Linked DNA regions of Homo sapiens: regions 1, 2, 3, 4, 5 and 6 are each linked to region 7. Evidence: promoter capture Hi-C in 16 types of primary human blood cells and fetal thymus (Javierre and others, 2016). All regions are on one chromosome and are shown on one strand. Each heading gives the region's core, a stretch centred on a gene start or on the middle of the fragment in contact. The rest is flanking DNA. Distances are from core to core; before and after follow the strand shown. Region 1 overlaps ALDH1A3 (aldehyde dehydrogenase 1 family member A3). Region 2 overlaps TARS3 (threonyl-tRNA synthetase 3). Region 3 overlaps TARS3 (threonyl-tRNA synthetase 3). Region 4 has its middle 6.1 kb from the start of LINC02348. Region 5 overlaps LRRK1 (leucine rich repeat kinase 1). Region 6 has its middle 5.4 kb from the start of TARS3. Region 7 holds the start of SELENOS (selenoprotein S).

Evidence for each region. The method cuts DNA at HindIII sites, captures the fragments that hold promoters and counts their contacts. A CHiCAGO score of 5 or more calls a contact.
Region 1: a fragment that was not itself captured here is called in contact with the fragment with the promoter of SELENOS in region 7 in 2 of 17 cell types (M0 macrophages and M2 macrophages); the score reaches 9.2 in M0 macrophages.
Region 2: a contact is called between a fragment that was not itself captured here and the fragment with the promoter of SELENOS in region 7, in 5 of 17 cell types (total CD8 T cells, M0 macrophages, monocytes and 2 more). The highest score is 7.4, in total CD8 T cells.
Region 3: a fragment that was not itself captured here is called in contact with the fragment with the promoter of SELENOS in region 7 in 7 of 17 cell types (megakaryocytes, M0 macrophages, naive CD4 T cells and 4 more); the score reaches 9.6 in megakaryocytes.
Region 4: a contact is called between a fragment that was not itself captured here and the fragment with the promoter of SELENOS in region 7, in 3 of 17 cell types (megakaryocytes, M1 macrophages and M0 macrophages). The highest score is 11.1, in megakaryocytes.
Region 5: a contact is called between a fragment that was not itself captured here and the fragment with the promoter of SELENOS in region 7, in 9 of 17 cell types (M0 macrophages, total B cells, M2 macrophages and 6 more). The highest score is 10.4, in M0 macrophages.
Region 6: a contact is called between a fragment that was not itself captured here and the fragment with the promoter of SELENOS in region 7, in 15 of 17 cell types (neutrophils, monocytes, naive B cells and 12 more). The highest score is 12.3, in neutrophils.

The regions. Positions count from the first base shown.
Region 1 is chr15:100,901,815-100,904,514 of GRCh38, reverse strand. All of the region lies in intron 9 of ALDH1A3 (aldehyde dehydrogenase 1 family member A3), which reads right to left. All of the region lies in intron 1 of ALDH1A3-AS1 (ALDH1A3 antisense RNA 1), which reads left to right. Among named protein-coding and RNA genes, the nearest start is that of ALDH1A3-AS1, 16 kb to the left of the region's middle. The HindIII fragment of the contact is 2,827 bases long and covers 1-2,700 here.
Region 2 is chr15:101,708,107-101,710,806 of GRCh38, reverse strand. TARS3 (threonyl-tRNA synthetase 3) reads left to right here. Exons shown (of 19, transcript NM_152334.3): 6 at 1,897-2,014. Among named protein-coding and RNA genes, the nearest start is that of TARS3, 15 kb to the left of the region's middle. The HindIII fragment of the contact is 3,396 bases long and covers 1-2,700 here.
Region 3 is chr15:101,676,249-101,678,948 of GRCh38, reverse strand. All of the region lies in intron 12 of TARS3 (threonyl-tRNA synthetase 3), which reads left to right. Among named protein-coding and RNA genes, the nearest start is that of TM2D3, 25 kb to the right of the region's middle. RefSeq lists an enhancer at 2,355-2,700. The HindIII fragment of the contact is 5,094 bases long and covers 1-2,700 here.
Region 4 is chr15:101,619,061-101,621,760 of GRCh38, reverse strand. No RefSeq gene overlaps it. Among named protein-coding and RNA genes, the nearest start is that of LINC02348, 6.1 kb to the right of the region's middle. The HindIII fragment of the contact is 6,686 bases long and covers 1-2,700 here.
Region 5 is chr15:100,921,763-100,924,462 of GRCh38, reverse strand. The region is part of intron 1 of LRRK1 (leucine rich repeat kinase 1); the gene reads right to left. Among named protein-coding and RNA genes, the nearest start is that of LRRK1, 3.8 kb to the right of the region's middle. RefSeq lists an enhancer at 1-304. The HindIII fragment of the contact is 2,910 bases long and covers 1-2,700 here.
Region 6 is chr15:101,728,499-101,731,198 of GRCh38, reverse strand. No RefSeq gene overlaps it. Among named protein-coding and RNA genes, the nearest start is that of TARS3, 5.4 kb to the right of the region's middle. The HindIII fragment of the contact is 3,967 bases long and covers 1-2,700 here.
Region 7 is chr15:101,276,192-101,278,891 of GRCh38, reverse strand. It overlaps SELENOS (selenoprotein S), which reads left to right and starts at 1,407. Exons shown (of 6, transcript NM_018445.6): 1 at 1,407-1,550; 2 at 2,217-2,351. The coding sequence starts at 1,475. RefSeq lists a silencer at 1,202-1,531. The HindIII fragment of the contact is 1,843 bases long and covers 450-2,292 here.

The DNA of each region.
Region 1 (2,700 bases), core at 125-2,624, 370 kb after region 7:
CTGGTTTCATTCCAATGATCATAAACAGAAAAAGAAGCAAACCCAGTGGTGCAATTGGATGACGGTCTGTCCTGGAGGAGCAGGAGAGAGGGCATAAACCGTGCATGCCACTTGACCAATCATCTCATGAAATATGGACCCAGTTTAAAAATACTAACTCAGATCCATACCTCACACTTTATACCAGGCCAAACTCCAAACCCAGTTTAAAAATACTGACTCAGATCCATACCTCACACCTTATACCAGGCCAAACTCCAAACCCAGTTTAAAAATACTAACTCAGATCCATACCTCACACCTTATACCAGGCCAAACTCCAAACCCAGTTTAAAAATACTAACTCAGATCCATACCTCACACTTTATACCAGGCCAAACTCCAAATAGATCAAAGATATAACCAGGAAAAACAAAACCATAAAAGTTTTATATGTGGGAGACTTATCCTGCAAACTTGGAGTGCCTTCTAATGACTCAAAATGCAGAAGCCAAAAAAGAAAAGATGTATAATTTTGAGTATGTAAAAAAAATGGGGTGGGGGCAAAATTATCATAACAAAGAGCAAAACAACAAACTTGGAAAAAATATTAACAAGTCATATTCATAGAAAGCTAATCTCTCTACTATGTATGTAAAGAGGTCTTAGAAGTGATAAGAAAAATGCCTAACAGCTTGCAAGAAAAATACGCAAAGCACATTTGATAATAAAGGAAATACAAACGGTTTTTAAATATATAATAAGATGTTCTACCTTGCTTATTATAAGCGGTAGATGCATATTAAAATGAAACAAGATAGCATTTTTAACTCTCCTATGGGCAAAAATCCATATTCTGTTGGAAAGGGTAAAGAAACAGACAAACTTCTAGAATGTTAGTAGGAATACACGTTGGTTCAGCCTCTATGGAAGGTAATTCAGCAACACTTAAGGAAATTAGAAATGTGTTCCCACTTAGCAACCCACTTTGGGAAAGCTGTCCCAGGGATTTCCTTGTGTGTGTGTGAAATCACATACTCTGAGGCCTTGTGTGTGACTGCACATACCTGCATGCTAATCAGAAGATGTTACTGAAATTCTGGTGGCTTCATCCAGCAGAATTCCATACACATGTGAAAAAGAATCAGGCAGGTTCCCATGGACTGGTATAAAGAGCTCTTCCAGTTTTTTTAGGGAACAATAAACAAAGTGCAAGATGATATACTATCATGGAAACTTCCGTGTAAAAATAACAAAGGCAATCAGGACTTGCATTCATCTGCTTGCATGCACACGAAAACATTCTAGAGGGAAACATGAGGAACTAAGAACTGGGGATACCGTGGGGAGAAGGGTAAGAACCAGGTGTACAAAGGTGGGGGCGGGAGGGGCGGGAATCCTTTCACTATAGACGTTTTTAGGCGTTTTGGGGTTTGACCCGTGTATGTGTACTCCACTCAAAAAAAGTAACAAAAACAGCTTTGCAACAGATCCCGGAAGAGCTCAAGGTTCTCTCAACTTCTCTCTGGGTGAACCAAGTCTCAGGTTAACAGTTCCAGATGCTGCTGAGCTGCTCTTCCCCTCCCTGAGGGGCCAAAAGGGACACAGGGGCTTCGCCCAACCGCAGGTCCTCCCTGGCTGCTGGGCATATGCCATCTGGCAGACCCTGTTTGTCCTGCAGGCAGTGCTGGGTCCCCGTGGAAAACCTACACATCCAAACTCCACACTCCCTGGAGAGCCCGTAGGAACACATTGTTTAAATCTAATAATCCTCCATGAAATGTCAGCTGGTGCCTTACAGTACAGGAAGAGAGACCTGCCAGGAAGTGAGATGACGCAGCAGGGCACAACACCAGAAACAGGGAAATACGGCCCCCACAGGACTGGCTCAAGGCTGTGCTCGGCTCTCTGCCCGGAGGACGCTGCCGGATCCTGCCCGGCCAGGTGGCCTGCATAATGTTTATGTGCCTCGTTGCTCAGTTGCCAAATAAACCTGAATGATTTTGGAGCATTCCTGTGAGCGCTAGCCCGGCCGTGGACCCGGATCTAGGTCAGCTAGCTGTTTTACAGGCATGAGACAGACAGGACTATTTAGACAGCTGTAAGTCCTCTCAGAGTAAAATCTTATTACCGTAGATGAAAAAGCACTTTGGAAGAAAAAGAAACCCCAACAGCATTCTAAAATAATATGCTGAGGTTAGACGGCTTTAGTGAGCTTTCAGAAGGACTTTGAGCGGTGGCATAAATGCACTGATGAAATCAGCACCCATTCTGCCTCTATCTGTTCTCTTGGAAGAAATCGGTGTATCTGGCCTCAAAAGTCAAGACTCAGACATCAGGCATAAGCCAAGAAAAGAGCCACAGAAAGAGACTTACAAATAACGACGGGGTAAAAAAGTTTCTTCTGTATGGGGATCAGTTCACATATTTCCCACTGATTGTGGATTAGCTTTAAAACTCACGGCGGATTCAATAATGACTTGTGGTCATGTTTGCGTTCAGATCTGAAATCCAGCCGAGGCCATTAGACAACCTTGTGTCACTGACCGCTGGGTTTGGGGCACAGGCTGGGCAGGCAATGACTGAGGAGAAGGAATGTTAGCCACAAGAAGTGCTTTCTGCCAGGGTCACGTGGCGTCGGAGTGTGTGGACTGGGGCCAGTGGAGGGTGGGCACTGATGGCCAGAAATGCATCCTTCCTCCATGAGGCCCTCCCTTCTTC
Region 2 (2,700 bases), core at 104-2,603, 430 kb before region 7:
TGCCTTAAGTTAGCCCCATGGCATCTCTGGCCTGGATGACTATGGTGCATTTTGTCTTTACCTTCTCCTGCACGCTGCTTAATGACCTCCCCAACCGAGCACCCAATGCTGTGTAGCTACTACTTACAGACTTGTCCAATCTGAACCACTATTACTCACAAGCATGAAACTGTGTTTACCTACAACAATTCTTATCTCAAAGGTGTGGGTTTTTTCCCAAATCAATGGCCAGTGCTCCAACTCTCTGGACACCAATGAGGTGTCTAATGATTGAACTCAATTCTGACACTATCTACCCTGAGTTAATGCAGATTCCCCAGGTCAAGGGCTCAGTCCCACAAGACTGGCCCCAATTCAGATGCCAGCTGGAAGTCTGGGCCTTCCATACTTTTGACCTACAGGCTACAAATCGGGAGTTCCCATGACCCCATCCTTGGGTTCAATAATTTGCTAGACTGGCTCACAGAACTCAAGAAGGCACTTTACTTACCTTACCAGTGTATTATAATGGATGTTACAAAGGATAGAGATGAACAGCCTGATGAAAGATGCTTATGGTGAGGTATGTGGGAGGGACCACAGAGATGCCATGTGTCTCTGGGCGCCATGCCCCAAGCACCTGGATGTGTTCAACAACCTGGAAGCTCTGTGAATCTTGTTGTTTAGGGATTTTAATGGAGGTTTCATTATAGAGGCACAATTGATTAAATCATTGACCTTTGGTGATAACCCAATCTCTAGCCCCTCTCCTTTCCCCTAAGGAGGCAGGTGGGGGTGCTGAAAGTCCCAACCCTTTAATCATGCCTTGGTCTTTGTGGTGACCAGTTCCTGCTCTGAAGCTACCTAGGGGACCTAGCCACCAGTCATCTCATCAGCACACAAAAGACACTCGTATCACTCCAGAGATTTCAGGATTTTAAAAACCCTGTGCCAGAAATCTGGATGAAGACCAAATTTGTGTTTCTTACTGTATCACAGTATCACATCCCGTTCATCTCTTGTTAACATGGCTCCAGTATTCGTTCAACAAGATGTTTTTGCTGCCTGCTGTGTGCTCTGTGCTGGGTGCTGGTGATTCAGCAGTGAAGGAACCAGTCTGTCCTCATGGAGCTAACAGTGTTTGGGGGAAGACAGCAAATGCACAAGCAGCCATCTGCTGCCGGGTGGTGATGACTATAGGAACATCAGCCAGGTGTAGGAGGTGTGTGCCATGACAGGCAGGTGGGCAGGAAGGAGCAGGTGGCATTGAAGCCGACCGGAGTGGAGGGAGGGAGCAAGCCCTGAGGATGGGGATACTTATGACATCTGCAGGGAGAAGGTTCCAGGCCTCTGTGGGACTGTCCTGGTGTGGGGATATGTGTGGCTTGTTTGAGGAGTGGCAAGGAAGCTAGTGTGGCAGGAGGGAGTGAGCACTGACCAGGGGGTGACTGAAAGGAAGTTAGTCCATGCATAGCGGAGGCTGAGTGCTGCTGGGAGCACCGCGACTCTGCAGTCCATACAGATGTCTCCCAGCCTTGGTTCCATAGCCAGTGAGGGCAGGGACGTGATGAGCACTGCATCTGGCTCTTGAGCAAAACTAAAGCATGTGAAGGGTAAGGAAGACCACACAAAAGAACAGGCCTCAGAGGAGCTCACAGTCCACCTGGGTGTCTCCTAGCAGGGCTTCCTTCTCCCCTTGCAGCAGAGGAGAAATGAGGCAGGTCTTGGCAACTGTTGATGCCCAGTCTCCCTCACTGAGACACAAGAGTAGTGACTGTATGAACGTTTGACTTTCTGAAGTCCTGGAACAATAAGACAGCAGATTCAAATTTATGGCTGCTGAGGCTCCAGGACAAAGGAAAGAGGGAATGCATAATGTCTGGAAGATGGATGTCGGTTCTCTGCTCTTCTTTTTAGAGCAGTGTCCAGCACAGAATTGTCAGCCCTGGAGAATATATGTAAAGCCATCATAAAAGAAAAGCAACCTTTTGAAAGACTAGAAGTCAGCAAGGAAATCCTCCTGGAAATGTTTAAGGTAACTTGGGGAAACTCCTAAACCTCTTACTAGGAATATTAAAAATCAATATAGACTAGCTTCCCCACCTTCCCCCAAATAATTACCTGTTGCTCACCAAATTATTCCAATCCTGTTAAGCTACTGTGAGGTTGTTACCAGTTACTTGCTGTGACATTTCCCTCCCCATCTATTTCCTGAACATTTGAGGGGAGACATAGGTAGGTAAAGGGCCAGGTGAATAATTTTCACATGTGTGTTTATAAATCTGATTAATTCTGAGTATTGTGAATATCTGTCACCTAAATTCAACAATATTTATAATCCCATATAAAATGCTGCCTTTTTCTCTTTTCTGTGGGAGTTTTCTGTTAACTTTTGTTTCAGATTTTAACCTAGAGTAACCTGTGTAAAACAGTAACTTTCTCTTTATATTTTTTTGACCAACGTACTTAAATATATTCCTGATTTTATGTTTTAAAACATACATATTGGAGAAAACATACATTTTGTTTTTTATTTTTTGGGTTTTTTTTTTTTTTTTTTTTTTTTTTTTCAGACAGAGTCTCTCTTTGCCTCCCAGGCTAGAGTGCAGTGGCACTATCTTGGCTCACTACTATCTTGGCTCACTGCAACCTCCGCCTCCTGGATTCAAGCAATTCTCGTGTCTCAGTCCCTCAGCTGGGACTACAGGCATGTGCCACCGT
Region 3 (2,700 bases), core at 30-2,529, 400 kb before region 7:
TTTAAAGTGCTGAAAAAAGAAAAAGGAATTTTCAACCCAGAATTCTATGTCTAAAGAAAATACCCTTCAGCAATTGAGGGGAAATCAAGACATTGGACCCACCAAAAGAATGGCTGTAGGAAGTTTTCTAAACAGAAAGGAAATGATGAAAAGAGGAATCAGGGAACTTTAGGAAGAAAAAGATTGTGAAAATAAAAACAGGTAAATACAATATATTTTCCTTCTCCTTTTGCGTTTTCTAAATTATGTTTGATCATTGAAGTAAAAATCACATGTTCTTTCTGATGTTCTAAATGTATGTAGAAGAAATGTTTAAGAAAATTATACTATAAATGGGGTAAGGTATAGGGAATAAAAGTTTTTGTACTTCACCTGAGCTGGTAAAGTGACAATATCTGGACTGATAAGTTATATAATACCTAGAGAAACCAATAAAAAAAAAAGCTATAGACAGGGATACACTAAGAGAACCTATAGATAAATTGGAATTGAATTCCAGAAAAATGTTAAAGTAATCCATAGGAAGACAGGAAAAATAAAACAGAAATGAATAACAAGAGAGAACAAGAAGGAAACAAAAAGGCAGTGTAAAGCCCTAACATATTAAGTGTAAATGGTCTAAATAAACCAATTAAAAGAGATTGACATAGTAGATTAAAAAATATGACCCAGGCTGGGTGAGGTGGCTCATGCCTGTAATTCCAGCACTTTGGGAGGCTGAGGCAGGCAGATCATGAGGTCAGGAGTTCAAGACCAGCCTGACCAACATGGTGAAACCCCATCTCTACTAAAAATACATAAATTAGCTGGGTGTGGTGGCACACACCTGTAATCCCAGCTATCAGGATGCTGAGGCAAGAGAATCGCTTGAACTTGGGAGGCAGAGGTTGCAGTGAGCCGAGATCATGCCACTGCACTCCAGCCTGGGTGACAGTGATACTCCATCTCAAAAAAAAAAAAAAAATGACCCCCAAAAAAAAAGAAGTCCCATGATATGCCAATTAAAAGCTGGAGAAAGGCCAGGCATGGTAGCACACACCTGTAGTCCCAGCACTTTGGGAGGCTGAGGTGGGTGGATCACCTGAGGTTGGGAGTTCGAGACCAGACTGACTAACATGGAGAAACCCTGTCTCTACTAAAAATACAAAATTAGCCAGGCTTGGTGGCACGTGCCTGTAATCCCAGCACTTTGGGAGGCTGAGGTGGGTGGATCACCTGAGGTTGGGAGTTCGAGACTAGACTGACTAACATGGAGAAACCCTGTCTCTACTAAAAATACAAAATTAGCCAGGCGTGGTGGCATGTGCCTGTAATCCCAGCTACTCAGGAGGCTGAGACAGGAGAATTGCTTGAACCCGGGAGGTGGAGGTTGTGGTGAGCTGAGACTGTGCCATTGCACTGCAGCCTGGGCAACAAGAGCAAAACTCCGTCTCAAAAAAAAAAAAAAGCTGGAGAACTAGGAAAGCTGATGGTATAACTCCCAGTCTAAGGCCAAAAGCCTCAGTGGGGTGAGCAAAGGAGGGAGCTGGTGTAAGTCCCAGAGTTGGTGGGCCTGAGAACCAGGAGCTCCAGTGTCTGAGAACAGGAGAAAATAAATGTCCCAACTCAAAAAGAGAGAGAATTTGCCTTTCCTCTGCCTTTGAGTTCTATTCCTGCCCTCAACAGATTGGATGAGGCCCACCCACATTGGTGAGGGTGGAAGTTGTTTACCAATTCCACTGATTCAGATGCTCATCTCTTCGAGAAACGCACTCACAGGCATTCCCAGAAATAAATGTTGTAAGGGTGGCCAGCTGTCTGGCATCTTTTAGCTCAGTCGAGTTAACACTTAAAAGTAGCCATCACAAGCCATTATCCTCAGCAAACTAACACAGGAATAGAAAACCAAACTCCATATGTTCTCACTTATAAGTGGGAACTGAACAATGAGAACAGATGGACACAGGGAGGGGAACAACACACACTGGGGCCTGTCGGAGGGAAGAGGAGGGAGGGAGAGCATCAGGATAAATAGCTAATGCATTCTGGGCTTAAATACTTAGGTGACGGGTTCATAGGTGGAGCAAACCACCATGGCACACATATACCTATGTAACAAACTACACATCCTGCACGTGCACCCAGGAACTTAAAAAAAAAAAAAAAAGGGTGTAGTGGCTCATGCCTATAATCCCAGCACTTTGGGAGGCTGAGGCAGGTGGGTCACTTGAGGCCAGGAGTTCGAGACCAGCCTGGCCAACATGGCGAAACCCCTTCTCTACTAAAAAAAAAAAAATACAAAAATTAGCCGAGCATGGTGGCGAGCACCTGTAGTTCCAGCTACTCGGGAGCCTGAGGCATGAGAACCGCTTGAACCCGAGAGGCAGAGGTTGCAGTGAGCCAAGACCACACCACTGCATTCCAGCCTGGGTGACAGAGCAAGACTGTCTCAAAAAACAAAACAAAACAAAAAACTAGCCATTGCAGTTAATGAATGAAAGACTTGATGTCTCAAATCCATCAAATTCCCTGCATTTCAGCTGCCTCTCTCTGGTTTAAGCCACTGTCATCTTGCTCCTAATTGACTCAGCCAGCTTCCTGATGGGGCTCTCTTCTAATCTTGCCAGTTCATTCCACATACTGTGAAAGAACACATTGACTCATGTTAGTCCCCTGCTTAAACAAAACAAAACAAAACAAAAACCCTTCATTGCCTCCCCG
Region 4 (2,700 bases), core at 140-2,639, 340 kb before region 7:
TGCAGCTTTCTACATCCCACATGGAAGCAGCAATGAGATGTTTTAAAACGAGATGTTTCAAAATCACCATCTCACTCTAGTTTGTCTACAAAGCCATCTATCAAGAACATTATATGAACTTTTAAATACATTCTTCTGTATTTATAGAATGATTTTTAAAGCATTTCCAGCCATGTTTAAAAGCTGTGAATAGTCTTTTTTTTGTAACCTAGTAACCAAAGTTATTAATGAAAGTCACAGTTAAACTTTTTTCCTTTGAAAATAAAATGAATCAACACATAACGAGAAGGTTAACATTTTTCTCTATCTTCTGGAAACTCTTGCATTGTTTTATTTTAAATTTATATAAGCTCTCTGTAACCAATTAGGACAGCATCTCCCATGGATTTTAATAGACCTTGTAATATGTATTACTTTTCTTTTGTGGGGTATCTGTTTATCTGTGCTAGTTAGTTCTAGAGTATGCACATCATGATGGAACATTTGTGTCATTACTTGATGTTCTGATTTTTTATGGCGGTGTAACAAATTACCTCAAAGCTCAGTGGTGTAAAACAGTCACACATTTTCACAGATATTGTGCATCAGACATTTGGACAGGCACAGCAGAATGGTTTGTCTCTGTTCTGTGATGCCTGGGGCCGCAGCTGGGAGACTCCGAGGATGGGGGCTGGAATCACCCACAGGCTCCTTAGTCATCTGCCTGGGGATCCTCTCCACAGGGGCTTCTCCGTGTGGTCTCCCCGCAGGGTCTGGTTTGGGCTCCCTTCCGGCATGCTGGCTGGCCACGCGGAAGCTGTGTCGGCTGTTCTAACCCAGCTCCAGAAGCCAAGCTGCGGTACACGTACCACAGCCCATTAATTGAGTGAGCTACAAAGATCCACCCGAAGCCAAGGGGAGCACACGTGAACTCCTGCTCTGACTGGGGGGGGCAGGAGGGCAGGAAGATTCAGAAAAAGCAATGAAACTAGAAACCACACAGAGGCCATTTTTAGAAAATACCAGTTGCTATAATTAACCTCCAGAGTCTTTCAAGAGCTGGAGGAAGAGCAGGGGAAAAGAAGGTGAGAGGGGCTGGCTGGAGTCTTCCTTCACAATCCCTCAGAACTCACTAGTTCTTTTTTTCTGTAATTAGGTGGGATATTACTTTCCAGTTATTCTTTTGTTCGCACTATTGCCAAGTGTTCCTGTCAAAAGAGTTTCTATTTTGTTGTTTGTGTGTTTGTGTTTTCGAGGATGTGTTAACCCTGTGTCCTTTTCAGGGTCACGCCGCTTACCTTTTATCCAGCAAGGCTTCGCACCTCCTGGGAAATGATTGGTCAGAGGAAGTCAGAAAAGCCTAGAATATAAATGCGCGGCACAAGTCTCAGTTTATCACTGACATTTTTTCTGACCTGAGTAGAATAACTTAGGTAGATAATTTTAGAATCTGAATTGAGTTTAGAAGTCTCCTTATGCCAACTAAAGAATGCAGGCCATTGGATAGTCAGGATTTTTTTTTTCTATTTGTTTTAGGATGCCTCTCAAAATAACTATTTTGTCTATGTTAAAAGTTACCCAAAGTGGCTGGACGTGGTGGCTCACACCTGTAATCTCAACATTTTGGGAGGCCAAGGCAGGCAGATCACCTGAGGTCAGGAGTTCGAGACCTGCCTGGCCAACATGGTGAAACCCCGTCTCTACTAAAAATACAAAAATTAGCCAGGCATGATGGTGGGCACCTATAATCACAGCTACTGGGGAGCCTGAGGCAGGAGAATTGCTTGAACCCGGGAGGCGGAGGTTGCAGCGAGCCGATATCACACCACTGCGCTCCAGTCTGGGGGTCAGAGTGAGTCTCCATCTCAAAAAAAATTTAAAAAAATAAAAAATAAGTTACCCAAAGTGGCCAACCATAACTTCAATTGTCCTTGATGAAATAACATCATTTACATGAATTAGAATTACATGAAAATATGGAGTAAGCAGGTGTTTGGCCTGAGAGGGGCTCGCATGTGGACCAAGACCATCCCACAAGAACTGCAGTGGTGGGTCGGGACCGTGTGCCCACAATCCTGTCCAGAACCTGGCCCAGAGCCGGCTGTCATCAGTCCGGGCTAAGGACCCTCCTGCCATCTGTCTGCTTTCCACGTCTTGAGTGTTTTTCATTTGCGAGAGGACATCTGTTGGGGGAGGGTGGACCTGGAGGCTGGCTGCAGGAGAGACTCACTGGACTCAGATCTGCCCTCTCCCCACAGACATCTTCCTGCAGACAGACAGCGCTTGCTTCCCTGACAGGCTTGATAAAATATTTGGAACCCAGACTCACACTTACCTCCTATAGATGGCGACTCAAGCGGTGTCAGATGTGTTCGTTTTACCAAGTCAGGGTCCCAGGCTGCAGGATTGGAGATCTTGGCTGAATCATGCTAAAACCCCCACTTGTTGAAGCCCACCAACCCCAGACCACCAGAACATCCATCACCAAAAAAGGTCAATGTCTTTAGCTAGCGGCTGGGGAGATACTGCACGTGTGTGAGTCTAAAGCCTCAGTGCTTCTGACTTTACTGGTTGCTGTAATTTCCCACTAACTGCCCAGAGCTGTTGGCTGTGGGTACACAAACAGGTGCCCTGGAGAGCCCCACTGCTCTGGAAGCAGAAGATGGGCATGGCCACAGCAAGGCCTCTGCCTGCCGGCCTAGCGTGCTGGGTTCAGAGGTA
Region 5 (2,700 bases), core at 150-2,649, 350 kb after region 7:
TCCTCCCCTGCAAATATTTGCATGGGTTCATTTAGTTTTCCCTCTGCAACATTCCTTTTTGTAGTCCATCTATCCAGCCAAACCCATCAGGTGTGGTCAGTGGGAAGGCACAGCTCCCCCCATCCCATCTTGATGCGGGGCTCAGGTATTGTCTACCTGAGAAGAGTCTCAAACAAACCCCAGACAATTGGAAAACACATACTGGTAACAGCTTCAATCATTGTTCAGTCAACGCACACCTACTGTCACATGCAAGGTAGCCAGGCTCTGTGTGAGGCTCAGTGGCACCAAGATGGCTCAAGGAGGCTCTTGCCCTCAGGGGCACACTCCAGTGGGGGTAGGGCAGACATAGTTAAGGTTAGTCACGATACAAGGCTCTCCTTTTGCCCGGGGCCAGTTCTTCTGGAAGCCAGAGGTGAGCACGTCATCCCAAGGGGGTGGTCAGGCAACAGTTCCAAAGACATGGAATTATTACTGGTTATGAAGTCAAGTTAGCATGAGCTTTAGCAGAAAGCTAAATGACGGAGGTTAGCAGACATGAGCCTCAAAAATTCTGCCCCTTTCCCAGGGGACATTTGGCAATGTCTGGAGACATTTTTGGTTGCCACAACTTGGCTGGGGGAGAGTGCTACAGGCCTCTAATGGGTAGAGGTCAATGATGCTGCTAAACATCCTACAATGTACAGGACTGCTATTTGCAACAAAGAATTATCTGGCCCCAAAAGTTCCAGGGTGGAGTTAGACTAATCTCTGAAACTAATGACTATGATAAACTGAGACCAAGTGCTGCTCTTCTATGCTGGGCCCCCACTGAGCTTAGAGTCCCCCCATGGGCATAAGTGCCCATCCTGGTATGGTGATTGAAGGACCAGAGGGAGGGTAAGACCCATGCCTAGCTCAGGCCTGACATGAGGTACTACCATAAGTAATGCATGTGCGCCTATCCTTGTTCTTATAGCATATCCTACATGTGATGAAGTACGAGGTAATTAGCACCTCTTGTCTGTGTTCTCTCAGATAGACAACTCTGAAATGGGGAGTGATAGTGCAGCCAAAAATATATTTTTTAAATCAAGGTTATATAAAAATAATGCCTAAGAGAATCTGTACAGGCAAAAGCATAGCGTGGACGTTAAAGGTGTGGACTGCCTGTGTCACATGTTCGCAGTGTGACTCCCAGCTGAAAGGTATGTGTGTCTCAGTTTTCACCTGTTAAAAATAGACATCCACCCTTATGCCCGGGCCTGCTAGTGGGGTTACTGTGTGAATTCAACCAAAGTGAAGTTTCTGCAGCCTCTCTCTACGACAGGGCTGGGGTGGTCATTACCTGTAGTACCAGCGCACAGACTTGGAGGCCAGCGGGTCTCCCACTTCCCTGCTAATTAATAAGATCAGAATATCAATGCTGGAGGGCAGATGCCAGCCTCACCAGCGGGTAGGTTCTAGAAGATGCCGTGAGCAGTAGGGGCACGAAGTAAGGTACAGGACAAGGCTGTGGGAATTTCTCACCTAAAAGCCTAGAACTCAGGCACCTGGCCCAGGTGGACTGGACTCGTCAAGGCAGGGAAAGGTGGAGCTAGAAAAGCCAGGCTCCAGCAGCCTTGTGCAAGCTGCACATGTTTCAGAGGCAAAAGGGATGGTCGACACAAACCACGTGTGGGAAACACCTGTGTTTGAAGTTGGGAAGCCTGAAAAGTCGAAGGAGGAAAGGAAAAACGATCAATCTGGGCAAAATTTAGGGGATGATGAAAGCCTTATAAATAGCAAAACCTGATTTGGAAAATCAACTTGTGACAGAGAGAGGAAGAGCCAGCAAGACAGAATCTGTTTTAAAATAAACGTTCCGATCACACATTCACATCCAGAAACTGAGAAGCACAGTTGCCATCTGCTTTCAGACACCTCTCCAAAACAGCTACCGCACATAACCAACAGCATTTCAAAAATCCAAACGCTAGACATTCTTCCTGAAAACAGAAGTGTCTTACCATACAATGTTTTTAAGTTCTAAAAAAAAAAAAATCTTAAAATTATTTCAGGCTAACCCTCACCCAGCACATTTTGTTCCCCTTTTCATTTTCAGTTTCCTTTTGAAAATCACTTTACCAGTGGAAGACTCTGCCCCTGGAGCAGTTTTAAAATTCTAGTTACTATTTTGGCTTATATTCTAAGGTAGAAGTTTTAAGATGAGGTAATTCAAATTTTGCTCAATCTTTGCCCTCAAACGGATCTTTGCTTCCTCCTGCTTCTTTTGGGTCCAGAGAGGTGCCAACAAGTGATGATTACAAGTTACATGTCTTCATTATACACCCTAAAGAGGGCATCAAGAGGTTTTCAGCAGTAATGATGGTTTAAATGATTTTTCAAAACCTCATCAATTTCCTTTTGCCAACTATTTATACCTGCATTAATGAATAAACCTAAACATTTAATGGAAAAGAAAATAGATGGGTGCGGTGGTTCACGCTTGTAATCCCAGCTCTTTGGGAGGCCGAGGAGAGTGGATCACTTGAGGTCAGGAGTTCGAGATCACCCTGGCCAATATGGTAAAAACCCATCTCTACTAAAATTACAAAAATTAGCTGGGCATGCTGGTGGGCGCCTGTAATCCCAGCTACTTGGGAGGCCGAGGCATGAGAATCACTTAAACTGGGGGAGGTGGAGGTTGCAGTGAGCCAAGATTGCACCACTGCACTCCAA
Region 6 (2,700 bases), core at 133-2,632, 450 kb before region 7:
GTATAATTACTTTTTGTTTTCTCCCTTGCAACTGGTTAACAGCCTGTGGGGGAACATTTTATGTCCATGCCAGTATCCTGCTGCTTTTCAGCACTGCCCCCTAGATTGAGCATGATGATTCTTGTCTGATCCAGTCCTTACTATGAAGGTGGCAAAGTGATGGTTTTCTAATTTCCCATTTACCTGTGTTTGCCATTTAGTCCATGGCATAGACTATAAACTGAGCTCTGGCTTCTTTCCCATTTTTTTCTATTATTGGTTGGACTTGTGAGTTCCCATATTTTTTAATGGTTTACAATTCATTACTTAATTATTTTTGAAGTTCAATTGGTTTGGCTGGTGGGATCCCTTCAAGCTGGTTCCTGTGCCCTTGTATCATGTTCCCATCATTTTTGTGGAGAGCGCTTTGTTAATTTCCAGCAAAACAAAGTGCTCTACGCTTATCTTGAACTTACATGTCTGATATCATTTGGATATCTGTCCCCTCCAAGTCTCATGTTGAAATTTCACCCCCAGTGTTGCAGGTGGGGCCTAGTGGGAGGTGTCTGGTTCATGAGGACAGATCCCTTATGAATGGCTTGGTGCCGTCCTCGACAGATCCCTTATGAATGGCTTGGTGCCGTCCTCGACAGATCCCTTATGAATGGCTTGGTGCCGTCCTGGACAGATCCCTTATGAATGGCTTGGTGCCGTCCTGGACAGATCCCTTATGAATGGCTTGGTGCCGTCCTGGACAGATCCCTTATGAATGGCTTGGTGCCGTCCTGGACAGATCCCTTATGAATGGCTTGGTGCCGTCCTGGACAGATCCCTTATGAATGGCTTGGTGCCATCCTCGACAGATCCCTTATGAATGGCTTGGTGCCGTCCTCGACAGATGCCTTATGAATGGCTTGGTGCTGTCCTCACAGTAATGATTGAGTCCTCACTCTTAGCACCTGTGAGAACTAATTATTTAAAAGAGCCTCACATCTCTCCCCTCTCTCTTGCTTCTGCTTTCCTGTCATGTGACTTTTGTACATGTGGGCTCCCCTTTGCCTTCTGCCATGAGTGGAAGATTCCTGAAACCCTCACCAGATGCAGATGCTGGCACCATGCTTCTTGTACAGCCTGCAGAAGTGTGAGCCAAATATACCTCTTTTCTTTGTAAATTATCCAGCCTCAGGTATTTCCTTGTAGCAACATAAATGGACTAAGTCAATGTCCCAGCTCTGGAATAGGCCTTTCTGCCAGGAACCCTTTAATGAGGAAAGGTATTAGAGGTCGGGACCTTTATCTCTTGGTTATCTACTTGTAGATAACCAAATTCATTGTTTTCTAGTTTATTTTCTGTTTCTTTTTGTGATGATAAGCAGATATATGCATGTTTTCATTTTCTCTTTTTTCTTATACAACATGTAACATACTACATGTGTACATTACTGTTTTTTTTTTGTTTGTTTGTTTGTTTTGACGGAGTCTTACTCTGTTGCCAGGCTGGAGTGCAGTGGCGTGATCTTGGCTCACTCCAACCTCCACCTCCCTGGTTCAAGAGATTCTCCTGCCTCAGTCTCCTGCATAGCTGGGACTATAGGCGTGCACCACCACGCCCAGCTAATTTTTGTATTTTTAGCAGAGACAGGGTTTCACCATGTTGGCCAGGATGGTCCCAATCTCTTGACCTTGTGATCTGCCTGCCTTGGCCTCTCAAAGTGCTGGGATTACTTGCGTGAGCCACTGTGCCCAGCCTGAACATTACTTTTTTTGCTTCATAAAATCTCCTGGAAATCGTTCCATATCAGTTCAGAGATCCTCTTAATTATTTTTTTAACAGCTTCATAGTGCTCCATTTTTTGTGTGTACTATAGCTTATTGAACCAATCTCCTATGAGGTACTTTACAATCACAACTCTTCCGTTGAATTTGTGTGCATATGCATTTTTGCCTTCTTGTATCTTCAGAATAAATTTCTAGAAGTGGGATTGCTGGGTTGAAAAAGAAATGTATATTTAGTGTTATTAGAACTTTGTCATTGCTTTATTTTGCTGTCATTTTTCTCAATTTTTCAATTGAGAATTTATTTCCATTCTTTTGTTTTTATCAATATAGGTGTTAGAGTTATGATTTTTTTCTGATTACTGATCTGTGTATTGCATAGATTTGTAGTATTTTCATTATCACTATTTTAAAGAAAGTCTGTACTTTCCTTTTTCATTTCTCCTTTCAATAAAGAGATGCTTAAGAGTTTTAAAATTTCCATGTGAAAAGGCTTTTTGTTGTTGTTTTATTTTTAATTTCTAATTTTATTGCATTGGGGGCTGAGAGTGTTGTACCTAATATTTCTACTTTATGAAACCTACTGAGGTCTTTCTTGAGCTCTACAAATGATTAATTTATATGAAGAATCTATACATTTGTTTAAGAGGAAGGTGCATCTTCCATTTTCAGGGTATAGTTTATATAGATAGATATTTATATATACATATTGATAATGTGAATATATTCAAAATATCTACTTTTTAATTATATTGTTTGGGTCTTTTACATCCTTACTTTTTTGTGGGGGCACTTGAATGTACTCAGAGAGTGGTTTGTTATTTTCCTTTTTTTTTTTTTTTTTGAGATGGAGTTTTGCTGTTGTTGCCCAAGCTGGAGTGCGATGGCATGATCTCAGCTCACCACAAACTCCACCTCCTAGGTTCCAGCAATTCTCCTGCCTCA
Region 7 (2,700 bases), core at 158-2,657:
CTTCACAGCCTAACAAAATAGTTGAGGCAACCCTGCTCATCCTGTCTAGTTTATCAGTATTTAGATGTAAGGCGGATTTAAAGCTAATCTGGGACTGAGAATTGCAACTAATTCCATAGAAGTCATTCAATTTAGCACATAAATGTTCCTGCAAGATGCCAGAGCAAGTGAGAAATCATCTGTAGCAAAGCAAAGAGTGGTGATGGTTCATCACCTTTTACAACGGAAAGGCAAACATGAAGAAGGAAATTCTCCCTCCTAAAATTCCTCATTAAATCGATAAGCTATCTTCACAGCCTTTATGGATAACATCCAGAGTCCTCGGTTCATCTGAGGAGTCCATTTTCAAGGTGGCCAACAGGGAAGAAGAGCTTTCAGGCTTCTCTTTGCTATGGCTCATGAATGCCAGGTCCCCTTTATTGCTTTCTGAACACACTGCTGGGAAAGCTTGATGAGGTCAGTGCTCAAATCCCTGCAGCTGTCCCCCTTGAGGAACTTCTTGGCAAACCTGCATTGAAGAAACACTGATTGCGTTCACGCTTCATGTCATGGTTTGCCTTCCCCACACTGCTCCTGGCGACAGTGGTGACGCAGCACTCGGATGTTGTCACCTATTCATTATTTTTTCAGTTCTATTCCCAATTCCCAACCCTTCTTTTGAAACACAGCTAGGTATGTGCACTTCAAATGCTCCAGAAAAACCCAAGGTCACATTTCAAATAGGATGGTTATGGTCACCATAAAGGTGGTGACGTTTGAGTGGTGGAAGAGGGTGCGGGACGGCGTTGCAGGCAGAGGAACACAGCCAGGACACTATTATAAGTAACTCTGTGATCGTGTCTTGTGGTGATACAGTATAATTCAACACAGGTTAGAGCAGTTACTATGATCGTTCTTTCCTAAAAGGCTTTGATTTTGGAGAAAGAACCTTGAGGATCGGTGGGGACTTTCTTGGCCTGAAAGGTATCACCAGCAGCAGGAGCAGGAGGCTGCTCACATTTCGTGTCTTCACTTGGGGTGGACGTTGGCTGCAACCCTCAAATGCTGGGAGTCGTCAACCAACTGAGCCCTGTTGTCCAATGTGCCCCGGGCAAGGATGTGGGTGCAAATCCTGCTTCCGGGCGACCACTGACTTCCTTGGCTTCAGTGTCCAATTAGAAAAAAAAAAGAAAGTAGAAATTCGGTAAGAAATCCGTGAACGAGGTCCGTCCTCCACCCCCGACTCAAGCCAAGAGATAGCACAGAACGTTCCCACACGCGCTGTCCCGGCCCCGGCGAGCGTAGCCGGGATTTCTCCCCCGCCACGCCCCTCGGCCACGCCCCCCTGCGTTTGGCCCAGCGACGGGGCGGGGTCGGCCTGCGATTGGCCGGGACCACGACCGCGTCCGGGCGCGCCACGTGTGCGTAGGAGCGCACCGGAAGCGCCCGGCTGGAGGCGCGGCGGCAGGGCTGGGCGGCGGCGGCGGCGGCGGTCATGGAACGCCAAGAGGAGTCTCTGTCCGCGCGGCCGGCCCTGGAGACCGAGGGGCTGCGCTTCCTGCACACCACGGGTGAGTCGTTGCGGGGCAGCCGGGCGCGCGCCGCCACTTTTGCGACGCGCAGCCATGATGGGTGGGTCGTCCGCCGCTGCACCGGGCGCCGGAGCCTGGGAGGCCTGGGAACGGTCGGGCGTTGGCGCTTACGCGGACCTTGGGCAGCAGGCCCGGACCTTGCGCGGAGGCTTCTCGGGAGCCGCACTTCCCTGGGCGGCTCGGCTGTCCCTTGTTTGCGCAAGTCTTTTTTGCGAACCAAGCCCTTCCTGTGGTAGTTACTGGGGTCACTCGGCCGTTGGCGTTTGCCTCTGGGACCCGTCCCACACAGCCCCATACACACTCCTGACTCCCCGCGCTGTCACCCCTTTCTATGTGGCTCTGAAAGGCCTTTGCCTTCCTGATTCAGATTAGTTGCTCTTCATTCTTCAAAACCCAGTTGCTGTGCCCTCCACACTCTAACTGCCCCCGACTCCCCAGATGGTTGGGAAGTCTCACTTCTCAGTGATCCCTGAATTGTCGCACTTCTTGAGTTCGTGTTTTAACGATCTACTTAGGAGGCTTTTTCCTCAGCCTAGACCATGAAGGCTTTGAGGGCAGGAGTTACACTTTGTGTTTGTTGAGTCTTATGGAAAGGTCAACTAGTAGTGTCATTTTTAGTTTTTTGAAAACTGTTTTTCTTTTCAGTGGGCTCCCTGCTGGCCACCTATGGCTGGTACATCGTCTTCAGCTGCATCCTTCTCTACGTGGTCTTTCAGAAGCTTTCCGCCCGGCTAAGAGCCTTGAGGCAGAGGCAGCTGGACCGAGCTGCGGCTGCTGTGGGTTAGTGCCTGATAACCGAAATGAAAGCGGTGGTTTTGCACCTCCTTTATATTAAGAGTTAGTCTCTTAGTAAAAGTAAGAGGGGCCACACAGGAAGACCCTGTCTCTATTTAAAAAAAAAAAAAATAGCCGGGAGTGGCGGCACGCACCTGTAGTCCCAGCTGCTCAGGAGGCTGAGGCGGGATAATCACTTGAGTCCAGGGAGTCAAAGCTGCAGTGGGCTATGCTCGGGCCACACTACACTCCAGCCTGGGCAATTGATTGAGACCTTGTCTTTAAAAAAAAAAAAAAAAAAAAAGTAGGAAGTATATGGTTCTCGGTGGGGCGCGGTGGCTCACACCTGTAATCC